3 separate regions of the Homo sapiens genome follow, and regions 1 and 2 are each linked to region 3. Evidence: promoter capture Hi-C in 16 types of primary human blood cells and fetal thymus (Javierre and others, 2016). All regions are on one chromosome and are shown on one strand. Each heading gives the region's core, a stretch centred on a gene start or on the middle of the fragment in contact. The rest is flanking DNA. Distances are from core to core; before and after follow the strand shown.

Region 1 (4,442 bases), core at 1,009-3,508, 220 kb after region 3:
GCTCATGCCTGCAATCCCAGCACTTTGGGAGGCCAAGGCGGGCGGATCACCTGAGGCCTGGAGTTCGAGACCAGCCTGAGCCAACATGGAGAAACCCCGTCTCTACAAAAAATACCAAATTAGCCGGGCGTGGCATGCCTGTAATCCCAGCTACTCGGGAGGCTGAGGCAGAGAATCACTTGAACCCAGGAGGCAGAGGTTGCAGTGAGTCAATATCACACCATTGCACTCTAGTCTGGGTGACAGAGTGAGACTCTGTCTCAACAAAAAAAAAAAATTCCAAATTGAAGGAAGCGTTAGCAGACTTCATCTCCAGGAAAGGGAAGAAGAAGATACTTAAATAATTAACAAAATATATTTAAAATGAGTGGGAGAACTTCCTCCATTAAACCCTGTTGAAAATGTGTGAGTGGTTGTCATGCCCCAGACATCAAGGAACCCATCCATGAGGTCTTCCCACACAGACTGGCCTCAGGAAGGGAAGGAGGAGGTAGGCCGCTCTGACAGCCACAACCCGAGTTGAGGAAACAAGCAAAGGAACACAGAGAGTCTACATACAGTAAAAGGTGACAGGAGTTAAGCTGCACACAAGGGAAGCAGAGATGGGTTGGAGGCAGTTAAGGGTGCGTTGCTGCCTCTGTGGCTGAGGTGAGTGCAAAGCCCTACATGGTCCCCTGTTTAGAGAAGGCTATTGTTTCAAACATATTTTACTTGGTCCCCGGAGGCAGCATGAAACTATGAAAGAAAGAGCCTTACCCCTTTTTTCAAGGCTCTCCAGACCACAGTTCTGGGATGGGTGTGGGTGGTTGCCATTCGTTCATTTATGCCTGTCTGATATGGAGCCTCCCTCTGTTACCAGCCCTGTGCACTCAAGTGCCTTGCAGTCCAGTGAGGAATAACTGTAGATAAGATGAGATGATGGGCATTAAGTGTAACTGCTGAGAAGCCTTCATAGAGGGAAAGGTGATAAGAACTGAGTTTTTCTGGCATGAGGAGTTTACCAGGCAGGAGAGGTGGAGACGCTAGGCTAGGCAAATAGGCTGCAGCCATAGTTCTGCTGAGAAACAGGTTTTGAACCAAGGCAACTCCATCTGGAGATATGTATCAGAAAGATTAGGAGATAGAATCTCCATCTTGGTCACTTATTTGGTCTTCTAAGACAGCAATGGGACCGTCTCTTAAATACTGGAGTTGTCCTATCTCCTTGGGCTGATACCCTGAACTGTCATTTGGGTGAGTAACACATTAAGGGGTAGACGGTCGGTTTGGGGGAATAAACTAAGTAACTAGGTTGCGGTTCCTCCTGCCGACTAAGCAGACCTCCTGGTGCGTGGTCTTGGGTTGCCCTGTGAGCCCTGAAGCTGTGAATGGGCCCCACAGATCACTCTAAAGCCAAGCATCCATGTGTGCCCGGCTGGGGATCTAGACCCCCCTGGTCTACCCAGGAACCTGAGTTTTGGTGGTCTGAGACACCTGGGGGACGACGTATCCCGGAGAAGGGACCAGGATTAAAGGCCGCTCCCCAGGCTGCCCGGAGACTAGAAGGAAGGCGAGGTAGCCGCAGTCCCAGGGAGGGTCTTACCCCTTGCTCCCGGGATGCGTTATGGCGGGCCTGGCTGTGCGAGATCTAGGCTAGTGGCTTTGGCTGCGAACGGATTAGATCTGATCCGATTAGAGCCTGGGCGGTCGGCTTCGCCCCCTTGCCAGGCTCTGCCAACGCCCGCCCCTCCCTCGTGGAGACCCGGAGACCTCCCTGAGAGCCTTCCCGCCCGGAACACGGGATTGGTGCAGAATCCGAGAGGCTCCATGCGCCCCGGGCCTGGCTTGTTTCCACAGTGGGGGCTCGTGCTTCCGCCCCCTGCGGCTCTTCTGGACCCCGCCCCGACCCTGCGGGTAACTGGGCCCGCGACGTCCCCGCCTCCGTGCTTGCCGCGTGGCGGGTGGGTTCCTCCGGGTCGGGGCCCCGTGCCGCCTGTTCACCTGGGGCGGGACCGTGGCCCCATCCCACAGGTCTCCCGCCCGTGCACCTGCCGCCTAACGCCGCGCGCCGCGCCGTGCGCCTGCCTCGCGCTCCCCGTCCGCCTGCCCCGCACTCCCCGTCCGTGTGTCTCCTAGTCCCCAGCGAGGGGTCTGTCTGTTCCCCTGGCAGGCTGACCAAGGGGCCGGCGTCACCGCTACGTGCGGCGGGGCCGGCGCGGCGGGCGGGGTGAGGGCGGCGCTGAGCGCAGCGGCGGCAGCGGCGGCGCGGGAGGCGGGGAGGCGCGGCGCGCCGGGGACAGCGGCGGACGGCGGCGGCGGCGGCATGCGGCTCCTCGCGCTGCCCATCGTGGGCTGAGGCGGCCGCAGAACCGGCGGGAGGCGCGGCGGCCGGGCGAGCCGAGGGCGCAGCCAGCCGGGCGGACCGCGGACAGCGGTCGGGGCGCCGCGCCATGGGGCGAGCCGGGGGCGGGGGCCCGGGCCGGGGGCCGCCGCCACTGCTGCTGTTTCTGGGGGCCGCGCTGGTCCTGGCCTCTGGGGCCGTGCCGGGTAGGTATGACTGCGCCCGGGACCCCCGCGGCCCTCGTGCCCCACCCAGGGCAGGGGTCCCGCTGGCGGCGGGGACAGGTGGAGCTGTGAGCTGTGGCAAGGGGGCGGGGCACCGCCTGGCCGCGGCCGGGCGGCGGAATGGTCCCAGGAGGTGGTGGGGGTCCGGGAAAGGCCGACCCGCGTGGGGGCCGACCCCGGTTGGGGTAGCCGGGACCCAAGCGCGCGGGCCGCGGTGCGGACTGGGGGCGGGGCCGGGGGCGGGGCCGGGGCGGGGCCGGGGCGGGGCCTGAGGGTGAGACTTCGGGGCGGGACCTGGAGCTGAGGGCGGGAGCCAGTGGACGCGGCTCAGGGTGGGTTCCCGAGGGTGAGACTTATGGGTGGGCCGAGCTGGGGGCCGCCCTGGCCTGGCTCTTCAGACGGCGGGGCAGGTCGGGCGGGGCCGAGCCGCGAGGCGTTGGGCGGGGTGTGATCCTCGTCTTGGGGGCAGACTCCGGGACGGGGCTTAGAGGTACCGGGTGGCTGGGGTCACACTGGGGCGGTGGGGTCTGAGGGTGGCGAGGTCTGGGTTGACCAGGTCTAGGCGAGCGGGCCTGACCGGGGCGGGCCGGGGCTCCAGGGCTCCTCAGCGCGCCGCCCTGACGTCCCGCCCCTTGCCCTCCCGCCCGCAGCGCGTGAGGCGGGCAGCGCGGTTGAGGCCGAAGAGCTGGTGAAGGGCAGCCCGGCGTGGGAGCCGCCTGCCAACGACACGCGGGAAGAAGCCGGCCCACCAGCGGCTGGGGAAGATGAGGCGTCGTGGACGGCGCCCGGTGGCGAGCTGGCCGGGCCAGAAGAGGTGCTGCAGGAGTCGGCTGCGGTGACCGGCACCGCCTGGCTGGAAGCTGACAGCCCAGGCCTGGGAGGAGTGACCGCAGAGGCGGGCAGCGGCGATGCCCAGGCCCTTCCAGCTACGCTCCAGGCTCCCCACGAGGTCCTCGGGCAGTCAATCATGCCCCCTGCCATTCCTGAGGCTACAGAGGCCAGCGGGCCACCCTCCCCCACCCCCGGCGACAAGCTGAGCCCAGCTTCTGAACTCCCCAAGGAGAGCCCCTTGGAGGTTTGGCTGAACCTGGGGGGCAGCACACCCGACCCTCAAGGGCCAGAGCTGACTTACCCATTTCAGGGCACCCTGGAGCCCCAACCGGCATCAGATATCATTGACATCGACTACTTCGAAGGACTGGATGGTGAGGGTCGTGGCGCAGATCTGGGGAGCTTCCCAGGGTCACCAGGAACCTCAGAGAACCACCCTGATACTGAGGGAGAGACCCCTTCCTGGAGCCTGCTTGACTTATACGATGATTTCACCCCCTTCGATGAATCTGATTTCTACCCCACCACATCCTTTTATGATGACTTGGATGAAGAGGAGGAGGAAGAGGAGGATGACAAAGATGCAGTAGGAGGTGGAGACCTAGAAGATGAAAATGAGCTTCTAGTGCCCACTGGGAAGCCTGGTCTGGGGCCCGGGACAGGCCAGCCCACCAGTCGGTGGCATGCTGTCCCTCCACAGCACACTCTGGGGTCGGTCCCCGGCAGCAGCATCGCCCTCAGGCCCCGCCCAGGAGAGCCAGGCAGGGACTTGGCCTCCAGTGAAAATGGCACTGAGTGCCGCAGTGGCTTTGTGCGGCATAACGGCTCCTGCCGGTCAGTGTGCGACCTCTTCCCAAGTTACTGTCACAATGGCGGCCAGTGCTACCTGGTGGAGAACATAGGGGCCTTCTGCAGGTAAGGGCATGGCAGGCAGGTGCATAGGGACACTGAAGAGTGTATGTGAGGCCGACTCAACAGAGGGCAGCGTAGCCGGGCGCGTTGGCTCACGCCTGTAATCCCAGCACTTTGGGAGGCTGAGGCAGGCGGATCTCCTAAGGTCAGGAGTT
Region 2 (4,052 bases), core at 62-2,561, 190 kb before region 3:
TTCTGCACATGCTCTGATACAGGAGAGCTGGTGTTCACCTCCCATATTTCCTGGAGGGGCTTGTTTTTCTTTGGATTTCATACTACTAGGTGGCTTTCCAATTAATTCAAGTTTTTTGTAGTTGATATGGCTGTTTCTTGTTGTTAGGGTGGGAGTGACGTTGCTTTTGGCTTTCTACAGCCAAGTGGAAGAAGAAAACCTGCTTCCTTAATATATGTTTAATTTGTGTGTTGGGGAGGGGGGGCAGACCACAACTCATTTAAAAAAGTACCGAGAGTTCTAATTATATCCATATAAATATTTACTCCAGACCAGGTGCAGTGGCTCACGCCTGTAATCCCAGCACTTTGGGAGACCAAGGCAGGTGGCTCACCTGAGGTCAGGAGTTTGAGACCAGCCTGGCCAACATGGTGAAACCATACCTCTACTAAAAATACAAAAATTAGCCAGGGGTAATGGTGTGCACCTGTAATCCCAGGTACTCAGGAGGCTGAGGTACAAGAATCACTTGAACCTGGGAGGCGGAGGTGGCAGTGAGTGGAGAGCGTGCCACTGCACTCCAGCCTGGGCGAGAGAACGAGACTCTGTCTCAAAAAAAAAAAAAAAAAAGAAAAGAAAAAAAGTTGCTATCATTGCTTACAAAAGTATCTTGATGTTGCAAAAGCTTATGTTGAGAAGTAAAGTTCATATTTTATTTTTATCCTTTAATTCAATTTTCCAGAAACTCATACATTTTTTGAACAGGCTAAAAAATACACATGTACAAAATCCAATTGGTCCAAAGGGATGTACGGTAAAACAAATTCTCCCAATCCCTACACCCTAGCCAGACAGTTCTCCTTCCTGGAGTAACCACTCGCCAATTTCTGGAGTAGTCTTTCTGAGTTAATGAACTTTTTTTTTTTTTTTTTGAGATGGAGTCCCGCTCTATTGCACAGGCTGGAGTGCAGTGGCACGATCTCTGCTCACTGCATCCTCCGCCTCCCAGGTTCAAGCGATCCTCCTGCCTCAACACCCCAGTAGCTGGGATTACAGGCCTGCACCACCATGCCTGGCTAATTTTTGTATTTTTAGTAGAGATGGGGTTTCGCCCTGTTGGCCAGGCTGGTCTCAAACTCCTGACCTCAGGTGATCCACTTGCCTTGGCCTCCCAAAGTGCTGGGATTACAGGCATGAGCCACCATTTACATATCAAAAGTAGCAGGGAGGATTTAATTTTTTATAAATAAAATAATGTCTTAAAAACTTTCCTCCTCTTGGGCCAAGTTAATGTTACATGGATCAAATAACTCAAGATGAAGCACAAGAAAATCTACTGCTACCACCTCACTGTCCTTATCCACCTAGGCTCATTCCCAGATGATGGAAACAATGCACAGTTAAAGGAAATTAGAAAACGAAAAGCAGCTAGCTTCTTTCACCTATGACTGATGAGGGTAAGTTAATATTAGGATGGGAAGAGCATCTCAACCATGACTAGTTGCTACCATATTTACATCTTATCATTCCTTTCTTCATACTAGGTTTTCTTTGTTTATGTTAGTCAGTCAAAGAACAAATGTCTCCACCGTGCATTATGGATTAAGAGAGAATAGATTTTCCCGTTTTCCATTAAGGAATCCAAATTTTTTGGAGTAAATATTTGTTTTTCTTTTGTGCTGGGATTATAGGTGTGAGCCACTGTGCCTGGCTTTTTTACATTATTAAATGAAGAAAAATGAAGAAATGAAGAAAAATGGATGCCCTTTAAAGTTTTTTTTGGTTTAAGTTTTTAATTTTTTGTTGCTACCAAAGATTTTTTTAAAGATTAGGAAACAAAAAAGAAGGAACCAAATCAGGACTGTTGTAAGGTGGTTGCCTAATGATTTCTCATCAAAACTGTCACAAATTATCTTTGTTGATGAAAGGAATGAACAGGAGCATTGTCCTGGTGGAGAAGGACTCTCTGATGAAGCTTTCCTGGCTGTTTTTCTGCTAAAGCATTGGCTGACTTTCTCAAAACACCCTCATAATAAGATGTTGTCATTCTTTGGCTCTCCAGAAAGTCAACAGACAAAGTGCTTTGAGCATCCTAAAAAACTCTTGTGTTTGCTCTTGACTGATCCACTTTTGCTTTGACTACAGCACTTACGCCTCTTGGTAGCCATTGCTTTGATTGTGCTTTGTCTTTAGGATTATACTGGTAAAACCATATTTCATCTCCTGTTACAATTCTTCAAAGAAATGCTTCAGGATCTTGATCCCACTTGTTTAAAATTTACATCGAAAGCTCTGCTCTTTGCAGCTCATCTGGATGCAACCATTTTGGCACCAGTTGAGTGGAAAGTTTGCTCAATTTTAATTTATCAGCCAAAATTGTATAAACTGAACCAATTGAGATGTCTGTGGTATTGGCTATTGTTTCTGCTAATTGTCAATCCTCTTCAATTAGATCATTCTTTTTTCCTCTCAAATTGATATTGGTGGTCTGCCACGGTGGGCTTCATCTTCAACATCATCTCCTCCTTTATTTTTTTTCTTTTTTTGAGACAGAGTCTTACTACATTGCCCAAATTAGAGTATAGTGACTATTTACAGGTGTAACCATAGCACACTACAGCCTTGAACTCCTGGGCTCAAGTGATCCTCCTGTCTCAGCCTTCCAAGTAGCTGGGACTATAGGTGCGGACCACTGCATCTGGCTGATGTCTTAAAACAAGTTATTCATGTGTAAACTACTGATTTGTTTGGGGCATTGTCCCCATAAACTTTACACAAAGCATCAGTGATTTCACCATTCTTTCATCCAAGCTTCACCATAAATTTACCATTTGCTTTTGCTTCAATTTTAGCAGAATTCATGTTGCTTTATTAGGGGCTCTTTTCAAACTGATGTTTTATCCTTTTTAGTGCTTCAAACTAGATCCTGTTCAGACGTGTTATAACAAGTTAGTATGAGCTTTTTTTTTTTTTTTTTAAGATGGAGTGTCTCTCTGTCACCCAGGCTGGAGTGCGGTGGCACAGTCTCGGCTCACTGCAACCTCTACCTCCTGTGTTCAAGAGATTCTCCTGCCTCAGCCTCCTGAGTAGCTGGGCTTATAGGCACATGCTACCATGCCCAGCTAATTTTTGTATTTTTAGTAGAGATGGGGTTTCGCCATATTGGTCAGGCTGGAGTATGAGTTATTTTGATACAAAAAAACTCCCTTGAAATCCATGAATAATTTTTTCATAGAATGCATTTTCCACGAACTTGTTGAAGATACCATGTTTAAAGTTTATAATTATAGCTGGGCGTGGTAGTGTGCGCCTGTAGTCCGAGCTACACAGGAAGCTGAGGTAGGAGGCAATCACTTGAGCCCCAGAGGTCGAGGCTGCAGTGAGCCATAAAAGCACCACTGTGCTGCAGCCTGGGTGACAGAGAGAGACCCCGTCTCTAAAAATAATAATAATAATAAAGTTTATAATTATGATAGGTTGTAAATTACTACATTTTTTCCATACCAGCTTCCTAAAAGTTGTAGAAGTCTTAACTTAAAGGAAGGGGTGATGGCTGTTTGGAGACATCAAATAAGAAAAACGAAGGAAGCCGCCTTATTTAGTCTTGTAGAAATCTGGTGCAATTAGTGAGTTCTTTATGAATGGAGACTTCTCTGCTGTGGGTCTGATTTTTATACATTATCGGACTGATGGTTTTTGCCATAATGACAGGTTTCATATTTGTGTTTTTCCTGGAGAACATTCTAAACAAGATGTTCTTCTGAATACATCTTTAGAAGTGATGGAAGGGCCCTAGACTTCATTAATGTTTTATTATACATCTAACTTTAAGTTTGATTTTGTTCTTAGATGAGGTTCAGTAAACTACTGCTGATTGCTGACACTTTTTTTTTTTTTGAAGACAGGGTCTTACTGGGCGCGGTGGTTCACGCCTATAATCCCAGCACTTTGGGAGGCTGAGGCGGGTGGATCACCTGAGGTCAGGAGTTCGAGACCAGCCTGGCTAACATGGTGAAACCCTGTCTCTACTAAAAACACAAAAAAATTAGCTGGGCGTGGTGGTGGGCACCTGT
Region 3 (4,402 bases), core at 521-3,020:
CAGTTCACAACATACTTCCATAGACTTTACCCCATTTAATCCAGGCAACTATCCAGTGAGGTAGGAATTATCTTTCCAGAGAAGAAAACTGAAGCACAGGTTACACAACCTGCCCAAGATCCCATAGCTGCCTCAGGGCAGATGGAAATCAGCATTGAAGCATGCTGACTCCAAAACCCTCCATGCTTATACTAGGCTAATTTTCTTATTTCCAGGATATTATGCTGTTGCCTAAATGTACTACGGTTCATTCCTTGAGACATATTATACTGTTATCTTCAAAGGCTGAAAGGGGCAAGAAAGGTCCAACAGCTAATAAAACTTGTGTGTGGTTTTTGTTTTGTTTTGTTTTGAGAAGGAGTTTCGCTCTTGTTGCCCAGGCTGGGGTGAAATGGCGCGATCTTGGCTCACTGCAACCTCGGCCTCCTGGGTTCAAGCAATTCTCTTGCCTCAGCCTCCCAAGTAGCTAGGGTTACAGGCGCACGCCACCATGCCCGGCTAATTTTTGTATTTTTAGTAGAAACGAGGTCTAGCCATGTTGGCCAGGCTGGTCTCAAACTTCTGACCTCAGGTGATCCACCCGCCTCGGCCTCCCAAAGTGCTGGGATTACAGGCGTGAGACACCGCTCCCGGCCCTAATAAAACTTTGTATCACAGCTACATAAATTAAAACACTTGAAGAGCAACTATCTTTTAGGGATAAAGAGCCAACACCGGTAGAAAACGCAGCAAAGGATGTAGTTTCTGCACATCGCCTTAAATCTCTAAGATTTAAGTGTAAATTACAAGATGTAGTTAAAACCCACAATGACAGTGGGGTTACCACCTTGCAAGAAACTTCAAGGGAAATCACCAGACAACGTCTCATTTCACTCTGGCCCATAAGCTGCAACTAAAACCAGGTTGAAAGCCTGTAAGTGGCCTTCTGCAGTCTACCTGCTAGTGTATGGCAAACCCTCATGGAGTGGGGTTGTAAAGTGAAACAGCCTCTGCCTTGAAAAATCATAATTCAAGTGACCAATGTTGCTACACAACGACTAGATATGCCATATCCCTGGCTTAGGGTTTCTGAGGACCCCTGGGACTCCAGTTCACTGCAAACAAAGGACCCAACATGCATTTGGTCTTCCCCTGCTAAATGGGACAAGTTACCACCAGCAAACAAAGAATACCTCACCCCTTGGCCTCCCCCAGTGACAAGGTCGGTGCAAAAGGGGGCAAACTAGGGGGGCCAGAAGGCACCGGGCCTCCCTCTGGACGAACGGTCCGGGCAGCACCGGGAAGGAGGAGAAGTAGACAAAGGTCTCGGGGCACTCAGGAGGCTTCCTCCAGGCCCTGCCTGGGGAAACGGCGCATCCCGAGGCGAAGGCGTCGTTGCGCCAATGAAGCGGCCTCTCCCACGGCCTCCGCGGAGCCCCTGGCTGCGAGGCCCGCCCCGGCGGACCGGTCTGGCCCCCGCCCCCGCCCGGGCTCCATGGCAACGGCAGGCCGAGGCCTGGCTGCCCACGGATCGGCCGGGCCGGCTTCCCGGGCAGGCCTAGGATGCCCGGCCTGCTCCTCGGGCCCGCCGGCGTCTCCGCCCCACTCTCCGCCAGGCTGGCGGTCGGACCGGGCCCCCTCCTCACGACGACCACCCCCGGCCGCGGCAGGCTCCTCAAGAGGGCACGAAAGGGGAGAATAAAAAGCCCAATTCACCTGTTGTTACAGATGTGAAACAAGCCTCTGTGCACCGCGCATGAGCCGCGGCTCCCCCAACCACGGCCGGACTACAACTCCCAGCAGCGGCGGCGCGGCCCCTTCCGAGTCCCGTGGCGGAAGTCCCGCCACCGGCCCGGCGTTCCCCACCCGGCGTCACGGAGCCCGCCTGCGGCGCACGGCTCCGCTCCCCCGCGGGCCTGGAGCCCGGCCCCACCTGGGACTCGTCGTAGCCGCTCGGGGCACCCAGCGCCCGGGATGCCCCAGCACCCGGCCCAATGGGGCGCGGCGGCGGTGCAGGCGGGACTTCCGGCGGAGTCGCGAAGGGGACGGGTTGGCGCCGGCTGCTCTGGGGTCGCAGAGCGAGCGGGTTTGGGTGGCGGGGTCGGGCGTCAAGTTGCTGCCTTTCTCGGCGACTTAGCTGCCTGCAGTGTGAAAGCGGGAAGGGTCTTCTCGCCCTCTGCGAGCCACCCGCGCCTCCTGATGCGAATAAACAGCCCGGGTCATGGCTGAGCGGGGAACGGTTTCCAGCTCGGGCTCCGGGATTCCACCCGCCTTCCCCGCCACAGCTCGTAGCCACGCCTCTTCTCTTCCCCATCTCCCCTCTAATCTGTTTTTTTAGGGAGGTGAGCATTTTTGTCTTGTCTCCCCAGTTTGCAGGGAAGATGAAATCAACGTGTTGGTTCGTTGATTTCGTAAACTGTACAACGTTAGGCAAAGGACAAGGTGGCACTTGCTGGTCGCGGGGAGAGTGCCAGTCATAGTTGCTGGAAATCTGGAGGTCCGCCCGGCCACATCACCTCTTAGGAATGAGAAAGGGGATTGTCCCAATTACACGCTGTAGTCCTCTAGATAAGGTTCAAGTATAGGTTCAGTGGAATTCAGCTTCAAAAGGAAACAACGCAGTGGCGTAGCTCTGAAGCTGGGTCAGGATTTTACAGAGTATGGTTTTAAGATGTGGCCTTTAGGCCGGGCGTGGTGGCTCACGCCTGTAATCCCAGCACTTTGGGAGGCCAAGGCGGGTGGATCACCTGCGGTCAGGAGTTCAAAACCAGCCTGGCCAACATGGTGAAACCCCGTCTCAACTAAAAATGCAAAAAAATTAGCTGGGCGTGGTGGCGGGCGCATATAATCCTAGCTACTTCGGGAGGCTGAGGCAGGAGAATCACTTGAACCCGGGAGGCGGATGTTGCAGTAAGCCGAGATCGTGTCATTGAACTCCAGCCTGGGCGACAAGAATGAAACTTAAAAAAAAAAAAAAAAAAAGATGTGACCTTTGAGGCTGTATGAAGAATTAGTGCCATATCCCGTCACTTTTGTGTGCAAACAGTTCAACATGTATCTCTTTTCTTTCTCTCTACATTGGCTAGAAGACCGGGGTGTGGGGGTGGAACATCATTTATTCATTCAAATAATTAGTGCATCTGAACAGGGCATGGTGCTGTGTTGTGTGGAGAATAGAGAGATCCCTGCACGGACATCTGAGTGCTCTGTGTATCAGTTGCTAAGCTGGTGTGGAGGCTACAAAGGCCCTGCCTCAAGGGACTTAGAGCCTAGTAGAGAAGATGACAACATTGTGTGAAGGAAATGGAAAGTGGTAAATGCTGGAAAGGAGGTATTAGGTACTCCAAGAGTTCAGAGAAAGGAGTGGTTACTCCTGAATGGCAAAATGAAAGGAACGTGAACAAAGACATACGAGTGGAACAAGGGACAAATCCTAGGAATATTCAGTAGTTCAGTGTGACCACAGGGTTGGATGTGTGTGCAAGCTTTACAGGAAATAGAACTGAAAAACTGTTGGGGAGTGCCATACTAAGGAATTTTTACTTTTTTTGGTAAGACATTTAAAAAATTATTAGGAGAGTAAAATACTGCACTTTTTTGTTGTTGTTGAGACAGAGTCTCTACTCAGTCACCCAGGCTGGAGTGCAGTGGGGTGGTTGCGGCTCACTGCAACCTCTACCTCCCACGTTCAAGCGATTCTCCTGCCTCAGCCTCCCAAGTAGCTGGAATTACAGGTGTGCACTACCATGCCCAGCTCATTTTTGTATTTTTACTAGGGATGGTTTCACCATGTTGGCCAGGCTGGCCTCGAACTCTTGGCCTCAAGTGGTCCACACACTTTGGCCTCCCAAAGTGTTGGGATTACAGGCGTGAGCCACCACGCTGGGCCAATACTGTAATTTAGAAAGCTTCCTCTGGAAGTGAAAGGGTTGAATCAGCTGGGAAAATAGAAACTAGCATGCTAATTAGATCCCGAGAGAGAATGAAAGATTTAACTCAACAGTGAGAAAAGCAAGAAAGAAAAAAAAGGGGGGGTGACTGTTGAGCAGCAGACTGAGCCCAGGCCACAAGTGTGTGGAGAGATGACTTTGAGATCTGTACCATAGTGACTGAAAGGATTATGTACTATTAACATAATTAAGGGACACAAGAGTTGGAAAAGATGATGGATTCAGCTTCACTCAGATTATGTTTGCAATGTTGTTGGGAAAGTTAAGTGATAAAGTCGTGGTCCCTGCTCCAAAGAAAGTTATAGTCTGGTAGAGAGGATGAGAATAGCATGCAAATGTCTTTTTTTTGTTGTTTTTTTTTTGAGACAGGGTCTCACTCTGTCACCCAGGCTGGAGTGCAGTGGCACCATCATGGCTTATTGCAGCCTTAACCTCCCAGGCTCAATTAATCCTCCCTCCTCAGTTTCCTGAGT

Evidence for each region. The method cuts DNA at HindIII sites, captures the fragments that hold promoters and counts their contacts. A CHiCAGO score of 5 or more calls a contact.
Region 1: a contact is called between the fragment with the promoter of CSPG5 here and the fragment with the promoter of DHX30 in region 3, in 3 of 17 cell types (endothelial precursors, M0 macrophages and erythroblasts). The highest score is 6.7, in endothelial precursors.
Region 2: a contact is called between a fragment that was not itself captured here and the fragment with the promoter of DHX30 in region 3, in 1 of 17 cell types (megakaryocytes). The highest score is 6.4, in megakaryocytes.

The regions. Positions count from the first base shown.
Region 1 is chr3:47,576,681-47,581,122 of GRCh38, reverse strand. CSPG5 (chondroitin sulfate proteoglycan 5) reads left to right here and starts at 2,258. Exons shown (of 5, transcript NM_006574.4): 1 at 2,258-2,526; 2 at 3,195-4,290. The coding sequence starts at 2,430. RefSeq lists an enhancer at 929-1,633 and silencers at 2,758-2,807, 2,848-2,907, 2,958-3,047. The HindIII fragment of the contact is 13,333 bases long and covers 1-4,442 here.
Region 2 is chr3:47,991,808-47,995,859 of GRCh38, reverse strand. All of the region lies in intron 2 of MAP4 (microtubule associated protein 4), which reads left to right. Among named protein-coding and RNA genes, the nearest start is that of MAP4, 23 kb to the left of the region's middle. The HindIII fragment of the contact is 1,290 bases long and covers 667-1,956 here.
Region 3 is chr3:47,800,506-47,804,907 of GRCh38, reverse strand. It overlaps DHX30 (DExH-box helicase 30), which reads right to left and starts at 1,770. Exons shown (of 22, transcript NM_138615.3): 1 at 1,696-1,770. RefSeq lists silencers at 1-172, 1,350-2,199 and an enhancer at 1,100-1,625. The HindIII fragment of the contact is 8,641 bases long and covers 1-3,466 here.